2 separate regions of the Homo sapiens genome follow, and region 2 is linked to region 1. Evidence: promoter capture Hi-C in human tissues and cell types (Jung and others, 2019). All regions are on one chromosome and are shown on one strand. Each heading gives the region's core, a stretch centred on a gene start or on the middle of the fragment in contact. The rest is flanking DNA. Distances are from core to core; before and after follow the strand shown.

Region 1 (5,529 bases), core at 1,819-4,318:
GAGGGCGGGTGGATTTAAGATTAGCTTAGGTTAATTTTAACCTAGGGTAAGATTAGGTTGTGAGGGGCTTAGTACCAGTGAGTGAAGAGAATAAGGGAGATTTGACAGCATCAAGGCCAACTTTCTATATGGAGAAGCCTGGATTATAAATGGCAATATCAGCACCAAAACAGTTGATTCCACTTACTCTGATGCTTTGTCATTTACCTCTTCTCCTTCTGTCCTTATTCTGAGAACACAAAAGCAGTGCTCTATTGGTGCTAGCTACCATCTGGTGACATATATAGTGATCTGTCTTACCAACATATTTTTCCCAGCTGCTCTTTTCTTTCCTCTAAGGTTGGTAATGCACACACATGCCTCAGTCCTGCCTTTTCTTCTCTATTTCACCACACACAGTTTACTCAATTCCAAATTAGGCTAGTTCTTTCTTTTATATACATAGGTACTTGAATTCACTTTAACGGACGCTCTCACTTGCATATCTAAGTCTCTCCTAGAGCACAAAAATTCCCCACACATTTCTCTCTTAGGCCTGTTCCTTCTGTAAACCAGATAAGTCATGTTGATAGTTGCTAATCACCAGCAGAGTTAGTGTTGCAACTCCTGATCAAGGAATTCAAATTGGAACAAAATACCATAGACAAATCAATTTCTATCACTTTCTAAAGCACCTTGGAGAGAATTTCCTGATAATTTCTGAACCTATTCAGTGTAAATCCTTGAATTAGTCAGGGTGATATATAAAAGAAATCATTCCTACCTTTCAAAAACATTGATAGTCTAGTAGGAGAAATAAGTACATAAGTCATTAAAACCCAAATGACTTATAAATGTCTCTAAAATATGTAAATAAATTATAACAGTATTTCAAAAGGGAAAAAAGAGAAGAGTTATCTGGGAATTAGACAAATCTTTCCATAACAATATTAACCTTTACCATGAAGGATTGGTAAAGATTATATATTAGTGGGAAAAAAAGGCAGCAATGCAAACTTACATTGGTAAGCTGTGCTTCTGAGTATATTTAACTTAGTTATACAACTCATTTGGTTTTAAAAAATCATGAATGTACTCTAATAAATATATACAATTTAATATGCATTATTCCTTCAGTTCTGCTTTTTGTTGTTGTTGTTAAAATATGTGTGAGAAACGTGTTAAGACTCATCTCCTACTGGAGGTGTTTCATTGAAATTAGCTTTCAATCTAAATAGCTTGCTATACTCAAAAAATAAACTGCCTCTGATTTTTTGCCTAGCTTTAAATCTGTAAAATTGAGTCTCATGAAAAAAAGCATTTAGGTTTCTAAGTAACCCAGATATTTCTTGAGCATCTGGAAACCCACATGTTAGTTACTCCAGCATTAGAGATTTTATAAGACAGCGTTTAGAGGCAGATCACTCTTGACAAAGTCACCTTGAGTGTTTTTGCCTTTGTTTCTAAACTCTGGACAACTCAAAGAAAGTATTATAGGACTCAGCTAATTCAAACAATGGCTTTCCTTTGAAATAAGATCGTCTGCTTCCCTTAAAGGCATAGTAGTCACCTTTGACACAAGGAACAGAAGGTAAAATAACAAAGGAAGTGGTGAACCAACCTCAGTTCTGGAATTAAAAAAAAAAAAAACTGATTTGCATTAATTATCATTTCTAGGTGTCTGGCCTAGTCCAGAGGATGCAAATGGCAGTTCAGATCAATCATCCTTAAATCGGATGTGAACGCTTTGATGTGGCTGAGGGAGAGTTGTGGAAAGGGGAGTAGGTACCATGAAGAGAATTGCAACAAAGGAAAAAAAAATATATGGGGTTGAATTGCCCCAAAGAGGACAGAAACAGCAAAAACATATTTTTTTATGTACAAGTAAAAAGTACAGAAGACAAAATAATCTCACCTGGTCTGAGATCTTTAGAATATAATGTTTAATGTTGATTCCCTTACTCTTACTCCTTTTAGGACTCGTGTGTGTGTGTGTGTGTGTGTGTGTGTGTGTGTGTGTGTAATGGGGTGGGGTAGGGGAAGGAGAGAAACTGATAGTACTGATGAATGGGGAGCTAGAAAGACAAGGAAGGAAAAGAGGCTCTGAAACCTAAGGGTGCCTACTGTCCTGGGAAACTTTAAAGCATATTCCATGACGAATTACATTATCTCCGGGCTTAGAAAATTCCGAAAAAGATGGGAAGACAAATCAAAGGCCTTTGATAAATGAGGCCTCAGTTTTGTGGTCAAGTCTGCACTAATTTTTGCCTTGTGTGATGTGCGAATTTGACAAAAAGAGGCGCTGGATTGAGGAGTGGGATGGGAAGGGGGAGGCACCTCTACCTGCACACGGGGGCAGGGGATGGATGCAAATCAGGCCTTCCCGAGTGGCCAATCAATAGTCAGGTGAGGGATTTTGGGTCCCCACCCCATCCCAACCGGCGTTTGAGCACGTGCACGGTGTTCTGGGACCTTTGTCCCGCAAAGTCACGCTTGGCGGGCACCCCTTGGTCCCTTTTTCTGGTCAGATGTGCTTGATTCTTTTCTGCTCTACAACCCACCTCTCTAGTCGTGTCTTCCCATCTCCCTACTCATTCCCTCCCGCGCCGCTGCGGGTGAGAGCCTTCAGCGGTGCGTCCTAAGGAGCGTGAGGAGTGTGCGGAGCTTGGCACACCAAGTTGCTGAGACTGTGACACCAGCCTCCGCCCGTTCCGCGCGGGTGCAGGCGGCGAGCCTCGGCTCGGACACCACAGCTCTCCTGCCCGCGCCGGGCAGTCCTCTGCCTGTCCAGAGGCAGCACTCCCGGCTCTCGGCTGGCTGTGGGTCTGTCTTGTGGGGCTCCAGCACTAGCCTGCTCGGCCTCGGAAACTCCTGCAGCGTCCAGAACACAGAAAATAGACTCATCTCCTAATTCGCCAGGGAGCTCGAGGGCTGCGGGGCCGCGGGGCTGCCTCCCCCGCTCCTCCCCCAACCCGACCCCACCCCACCCCCGCCAGGGCTTCGGCGGCCTCCCGGAGTCACACAGCCTACCCCCCCACCCCAACACCCCCTCCCCCGGCAGACAAAGGGCCTGGGCAAATTCGCCGCCCGGCCTCCTAGCGCTCCGGGGAGGCCGCTGCGCCCCGGAGTGGATCGCGCTGGAGGCGTGCGCCGGGCGAGAAGCCGCGGCCGCGGGAGCGCAGTATGGGGAAGAACCGCGAGATGCGCCTGACTCACATCTGCTGCTGCTGCCTCCTTTACCAGCTGGGGTTCCTGTCGAATGGGATCGTTTCAGGTAAGTTCTTCCGTGACTTTCTCGCTTCCTTTCCAGCCATCCCAGCGGAGACCGCGAACGTACGGGTCGGCAGGGCTGGTGCAACCGGTGCGTGGAGAGCAGGGCTCAGTGGGTAGCAATAAAAATGAGCTTGAGGTGCAGGTTAAGGGGTCAAGTTCGGAAATGAAGCACACTTCTGCCGGCCTCGTTTTAACCGTATGTGGAATAGTTTCCTTCTAATTAGAGCAATAATATTTGCAAAGGTACGTTTACAGCACCTGGAGGAAAATTAGAACGTACCTAAGTTGATAGCAACGCTCTGCTCTAGCATACACTTCAGAAATCGTTTACTCGTGCTGGAGTCTTTGCATCGGTTTTCTTTTCAACAATGAAGTGCGGTCACCAAACTTTGATTCCCCCTCCCCCGCCCCTAATATAATCGTACTTTTACTCTGAAAATGCTGGGGTCTGTAATCTGATCGCAAGGCTTCTGGGGTTGCAGAGTTTCAGGGTCTAGACGGGTGGTCTCCATTGCATTCAACGCGAGCGCCCTGTATCTATGGACTGTGAGCTTGGAAATGTTTGTGCTACTGGAACCGCGGCACTTTAAGCCCCGCACTTCTGTCTGCCCCGCCCGCAGAGCTGCAGTTCGCCCCCGACCGCGAGGAGTGGGAAGTCGTGTTTCCTGCGCTCTGGCGCCGGGAGCCGGTGGACCCGGCTGGCGGCAGCGGGGGCAGCGCGGACCCGGGCTGGGTGCGCGGCGTTGGGGGCGGCGGAAGCGCCCGGGCGCAGGCTGCCGGCAGCTCACGCGAGGTGCGCTCTGTGGCTCCGGTGCCTTTGGAGGAGCCCGTGGAGGGCCGATCAGAGTCCCGGCTCCGGCCCCCGCCGCCGTCGGAGGGTGAGGAGGACGAGGAGCTCGAGTCGCAGGAGCTGCCGCGGGGATCCAGCGGGGCTGCCGCCTTGTCCCCGGGCGCCCCGGCCTCGTGGCAGCCGCCGCCTCCCCCGCAGCCGCCCCCGTCCCCGCCCCCGGCCCAGCATGCCGAGCCGGATGGCGACGAAGTGTTGCTGCGGATCCCGGCCTTCTCTCGGGACCTGTACCTGCTGCTCCGGAGAGACGGCCGCTTCCTGGCGCCGCGCTTCGCAGTGGAACAGCGGCCAAATCCCGGCCCCGGCCCCACGGGGGCAGCATCCGCCCCGCAACCTCCCGCGCCACCAGACGCAGGCTGCTTCTACACCGGAGCTGTGCTGCGGCACCCTGGCTCGCTGGCTTCTTTCAGCACCTGTGGAGGTGGCCTGGTAAGCGCCTTCTTTCCCTAGCTCTCCATTTTCCCCTGCTGCTCCTCTCCTTGCCCATAGGTCAGGATGATTTGCATGCACCTTCTCCCCTTTCAGTGTGCTCCTTTTGAGCTTGGCCCTAGACTGCACCCCCAGGTGTCTACATCGTTTGCCTCCCATGGAACATCTCCAGGGCAGTTGTGTAAATCGGAAGTTTAATTGGGTGGATAAATGGCCTTCTCCTTCCAGATGGTTATGTGTCTTTCAAAACTGCGTGAAACTCTGCCTTTTCGTAACTTCTTCCCAATGGCTCAACTTCTTTCTGTTCTCCAGAGTTTTCCAAACTAAGCGCTCCACGTGATGTCTTTTAGGAACTCGAAAGACAACCAGTCGGCTCACTGATGAATCTCCTTCGTGTTTGCGCCGCACTCTCAGTTCCTCATCTGTTATCTTAGAGCTTTTTCATAACCTACTTCAAAGTTGAAAGAACAGTTCTATAGGGGATTACTCTGACAGTTGTCTAGAATTTAAACACATCCAGAGTCATACTGGACACCTGTTCACTGTTCTTGTGAAAGGAGTTGGGAGGGACTCAACTGAGAGACTGGAGGTTGAGTAACGGGTGACATTAGAATCCGATCTGTGTTCAAAGGGTTATGGTTCTGTGATTTACATTTCATTTGACAGTAGTTCCTTTTCTTCTTTCCACTTTTTGGAGGAAAGGAGCAAGGTGGAGAGCCTTGTTAAAAGGCCTGTTGGGATGGAAAGTAAAAGCCATTTGCTCTGTCAATGTAGAACATCATTTGATTTTTCTCCCTCTGTCACGATTCAGGGGTTGGGACAAGCTTCTATAAGTTGACCTTTGTGTGTGTGTGTGTGTGGGGGGGTCAAATATGCATAACATAAAATTTACTATTTTAACTGTTTCTAGATGTACAGGTACGTGGCATTAAGTACATTCACGTTGTTGTGCAACACCACCATGTCCTTTATGGTTGTTGCCACCACCATAGGCTTTACTA
Region 2 (5,529 bases), core at 1,602-4,101, 60 kb before region 1:
AGTTAGCTGATTAGACAGGAACAGGAACAGCAATGTTGTTGCCTAAAACTGGGGTCAACACTGGTGAGACAACGCAGCAAACCTCTATCCAGCAAGGTTCTGAAGATTCACCTGGTTTCTGCCCACAGTGGTTGTGAATTTACCTCCTTTATCACTGCAAAGAGGAGAAGGTAAATTCACAACCACTATGGGCAAAAAACAGTGCCTCTCTGTGAGAGTTGTCTGTTAATTCTTATCAAGGTGAATCAGAAGAGATGACAACATTCGTTTGTTTATCTCTTCTTCATAGTGTCATGGTACCTTTGACATTATTCAGTGTCTTAAACCAGAGAATGTCTAATGTTGGAATTTTAAGTAGGGCAGAAAATCTACATATTTGCTCTACCAAGTGTATTAGTCTGTTCTCACACTGCTATAAAGAACTGCTTGAGACTGGGTAATTTATAAAGAAAAGAGGTTTGACTCACAGTTCCACATGGCTAGGGAGGCCTCAGGAAGTTTGCAATCATGGCAGAAGGGGAAGCAGGCACGTCTTACATGCCAGCAGGTAAGAGAACATGTGAACCAAGCAAAGGGGGAAGAGCCCCTTACAAAACCGTCATACCTTGTCATACCTTGTGAGAACTTACTATCATGAGAAGGGCATGGGGGAAACTGACGCCGACCTCCCCCACCCCACCCATGATCCAAACACCTCCCACCACGTCCCTCCCTCAACACCTGGGGATTACAATTAGAGATGAGATTTGGGTAGGGGCACAAAGCCAAACTGTATCACCACAGTACTGTCAAATAATGACAAGTTTGCAACCGTTTCTATGTGGGGCCAATTATGATAGAAAATGTTACTGCCTTTGCTGCTTTATCTGATAAGTATAAGCAATAGTATCACCATTTGTCATAATAATACACAGACTGAACATTTGTAAGATACTTCACATTTTACAAAGCAACTTTCATGTTACGATTTTATCCACCTTCTTAAACACCCCAAAGGAAGGTAATATTTCTTCTAACAAATGAAAATATGTGGCTTATTCATTATTCAACCTCAAAGCAGCAAAACCAACATAGAAACTGGGGTCTTTGATACAGAAATCTGGTGTTTGTGCAGAGCTGTCATTAAAGCTTTCCTCCTAGAAGGAAAGTATGACTAAGGTCTTTTGTTTTGTATATGTTGAGATCTTGCCATGCAGCTTGTAAATGTTCACAAAAAGCATGGGGAGTTTTGATACTTAATTACAAGATTGGGTCAACTAATATAAAGCCCTGGATTCTCAAGTTCTCATTAGATACTTTTGATGTTGGAGGTTATTGTGTGTGCCAGTGGATGCAGAAGGTTGATTTGGCCCAGCCTGTCATTCCCCCCTCAAGCCCCCCAATTACCTGGATGATGTATTGGTAGAATAGGCAATGCTACTGAAGAATTCTTTCATCTGAGAGTGAAGATGAAAACAAACCAACACATTCTCCCTGCATTGTTCACTAGCTTTTTGTTTTATCCTCCTAAGGTTTGATGTTTGATAATGAATAAATTAGGATAAAATGTGAATGCACCCTCTGTAAGGACCCAGCGGGAAACATTGGCTGTTGAGCCAGATCTCAATCAGCAAATGAAAGGGGTTCATTTTGGCATCAAGACCAGGCCTGTGAAGTCTGCATATTTAGAAGAAATTCAAGATGAAAAAGGAAATATGTGTGCATGATGTTTATGTGTATGCAAGAGAGATAGACTTAGAAAAGTTTCAATTTTATGGAAACATCACAAACGAGATAAGCAACTTAATTTCCTTATTATATAATTTATATATAAAAAATTCATCATTTCACTATTGTTGATTAAAGTGGCATATTTTACTAGCGCACATAATGTTTTACCATTTGGAGGCTGAACATCTTTTGAAACTCATACACATCTGTAAAATACCTACATCGTTGGCATAAACTGTTGCTCATCTTCATGGAGACAACTTGAGCCTGATTTAAAAAAATTGTATGGAAACTGGTTTTATATGGAATAACATGAACAGTCATGAAATTGGTGTTAATACTTCTTCTTCTTTAGTATGATATTTAGATCTGCTTCTCTCTTCCTGGTCTATATGCATTCCTTCTTTCAAAGGTTGTGATATATTGTTATTCTAAGGACAGTGCCCTAAGGAATTTAATTACATTAATTTAAAGCCAGGATCTGAGGCTAACAGCACTCATACCTCAGATAGTATGTGGTCTGATGCTGTTACCTTTCTCCTCATACCTGCCCTCCACAAAGAGCTGTCACATGACTTTGGCACCTCCCAATTCTTCCCCCTGTCACTCAGCTTTTAGACAGAAGCTGGCTTTTTTCTGTAGTCCTTTCTTCACCTAGCGCATGCCTGAAGCCTGGAAGCTTTGCTGCAGGCTTAAATTCTTAAGTATGTAAGAGGTTATAGCCATTCGAGGAAAAATACCAAATAGGCAAATATGTTTTTCTGGCATGTTCTCCCTCTTCCCATATTATTTCAGACTCTAGGACCTGCTACGAAATGAGCCTTGAGGAAAGGATGTGCTGCTGGTGGGCAGACACTCATTTTTTATATATACACTCATTTTTTGTATGTATGCATTACCTGTTACTTCTTCTGGGCTCATTTAAACAGTGAACTCTCTTTTAATTGTATCACTTCAAACTGAATTTCTAAATGAAAAAAATCTGAGAGTCTAGCTAGCATGTTAGATGGATATTTTGGGTGGCAAAGACACTTTCCCAAATAACCTATCACAGATGATGTCTCATGCAACACTTGTATGTAATATGCAATGAAGACATTGTTCCTTTGGAAAGTAACTCAAGATCTTGTACCCTGAGGCTGCTACTGTAGTTTTGTTTCAGGCCTTGAATACACAGCCTTAAGTCTTGTCCTCATTTATTTTATGTGATAAGTGACCTGGCTCGAAGCAGGATCAACTCATTTTTAAATAGAGGCAAAAAGGAACATATAGAGAAATATACGTGGCAGGTTCATTACATTATATGGACATCACAACAATAACATTTTTTTCTTTCAATCTGTAATTAGATAAATTTTCTCTTTTGAAAACATGAAAAAGGAAGATGTAGATAAGGCAGCTAACTTTTGAAATAGCCTGGTCAAATGACATTTTAAAAAGAAATTAAGGTTTTTCTATTCCTTTGAGAAAATTTTTATACTTAAGAATTTTAATAATTAGGATTTCTTAAAGGGACAGGAAATGTAACACAAGATATAATGCTATGTATTATACATTCAGTGAGATTAAAAATACACTGAATTAAAAGTACTTTTCTTTTGTGTTATATCTGACTGTGATTGACATTCAATATATTTACTTAAATTTTTCCCTTGACCTCTTTTCTTCTCATTTCCTTTTTCTTTATGACTATAAAGCTGAGATTTTTATCTGTTAATTAGTAGCTTAAACTTCTGATGTTAGAGTTGCCTGGGGCAAGCAAACATAAATGGTTAAGTATTACATTCCTACCATATAATTAACTGACTTTCCATATGTGAAAAAAGAAATGGGAGAAAGGGAGGGAAGGGAGAGAAAGAATGGAAAGGTGTTACAGGAAAAGTATCCATCAAAGGAAAATGTATTATATTACTAAATAAGTTGTATTTCTTTATAATATCACTAGGTGGCATATAACTGACTCGAACAAAAAAACTAGAGGAGAGCCAGGAAAGTTGATTTAAAAAAGAAAACAAAAAAGCTATATCTGGGAGTTGTCTGTATTTGTTTATTTGCCTATACATTTGGCAGCTCACAACTCAGATACGTCAGATTTGTATCGGGGATCAAGTGATATAATACATGTAAAAGTGCCGTTAGTGCCTGGTGTATAATTAGCACTAAATATATGTTAATTTTGTGTTACTAGTTGTCGTAGAAAGCATTTTTTGTTGCTTATATTGCCATTCAAATGTATAATCTTATTAATAAGAGTGGGTAAGAATTTCATTAACTAGGAATATGTTTCCAAGTGGTTTATAGATTTAAAATAAAAAATATGAAATGACAAAGTCATAAGCATTTTGAAATATTTTCTAATTATTTTAAATTTAGGTAAATATTAATGTCTTGTGAAAAATTAGATCCATTCAAATTCAAGAAAGGGTTCATAAATGTGCCTACCAAGACTCATCACCATGTACTGAATTCAAGTTTCTAAAATCTAGAAGTATAAACATATGTATCTGTATTACACTCATAGCCACAGGCATTTTTGTAACTAGCTTCTGTTCCTTTAAGAAATGATGGATTAGCTGGGGCACAGTGGTATATGCCTGTAGTTCCAGCTACTCAGGAGGCTGAGGCAGGAGGATCACTTGAGCCGAGGAGTTTGAGACCAGCCTGGGCAACATAGCAATACACCGTCTCTAAAATAATAATAAAATAAAATAACTGATGGATTACCAAAATTCACTCCTAAATATAAAAGAGTTTGATTACTTGTTACACACAAATTTCGCTTCCTTCTTACTTCTATGAAAAATATGTCTCAATACAATAAGAGAGAACCTGCAAGAAAACGGTAGATTTAATAAAGCAGTTTATATATGTTAGATTAGAAAAGAGAAAAATGGGAAGTTGCAGCAACACCTTAGGGAACTGATGATATTGATATAACCCAAGAAGAATAAAGATAACTAGTCAATTGATGTGCATACCATACATTTTCATTTTTCAACATGTAAAAATAATGACAGAATTAGCTTGAAACCAGGATTAAAATGTTCATGTACATTTTTCCCTCTAATGGTTCACTTAGATAGGCAACAATTTGAACACACATTTTGATGATGCCTCAAGTAGAAATTTGTATCACTTCCTCTAACAATCCAAAAATATGGACAAATAATTATAGAAAGGAAAAAACCCTAATCTTCCAGTCTTGGAAAAAGAAAAAGACTTGTTGACTACTTACTTTGTGGAAAACATATTTACATTTTAACAATTAAACAGTAAGAGAAGTATCATTATTATACATTATCTATGAGAAAAATAAAGTACACGTAAGTGAAAACATGCCCAAAGTCACTCATCTAATGTATAGAAAGATATGGATTAATGTTAACAGACATTTGTATTAGGCTGACCCTCACGAACACTTCCAATTAACAGATTTTATGGATGGTGAATTAAAAATACAATGAATTTTCATTAAAAAGTACATCTATATTTGATCACAGTTTTGCAAATAAAGACAGAAATTTGATTTTTTAATGTGCTAATACCTTGCATTGGAATTAAGGGTGTGTTTTATAAGACAACAAATTTAAAATTGATTAAGGATCAGAAATTCAAAGTGGGGCAATCACAAGTGATATTTAAATGATATAATAATTCAAATTGTTGGAAGCCCCTCTACTCCTAGTAAAGTAGATTAGGTAATTTGGACCAAAACTTTCATGAGGATAACTGGAAAACCTGGGGGAAAAAATAATGTGTTCTGAAAACACTGGAGAGTGGAAAAGATAGTTAACATTTGCTAAACCAGAATCTGAGGAA

Evidence for each region. Contacts are between HindIII fragments. The study calls those that stand out against the background at their distance.
Region 2: a contact is called between a fragment that was not itself captured here and the fragment with the promoter of ADAMTS19 in region 1, in 1 of the 25 tissues and cell types used here (adrenal gland).

What each region holds. Positions count from the first base shown.
Region 1 is chr5:129,457,230-129,462,758 of GRCh38, forward strand. It overlaps ADAMTS19 (ADAM metallopeptidase with thrombospondin type 1 motif 19), which reads left to right and starts at 3,069. Exons shown (of 23, transcript NM_133638.6): 1 at 3,069-3,253; 2 at 3,873-4,528. The coding sequence starts at 3,163. ADAMTS19-AS1 (ADAMTS19 antisense RNA 1) reads right to left here and starts at 3,460. Exons shown (of 2, transcript NR_125748.1): 1 at 3,196-3,460; 2 at 2,330-2,850. RefSeq lists an enhancer at 2,028-2,990. The HindIII fragment of the contact is 8,605 bases long and covers 1-5,529 here.
Region 2 is chr5:129,396,948-129,402,476 of GRCh38, forward strand. It overlaps MIR4460 (microRNA 4460), which reads right to left and starts at 200; the gene lies at 115-200. RefSeq lists an enhancer at 1,156-2,144. The HindIII fragment of the contact is 6,025 bases long and covers 1-5,529 here.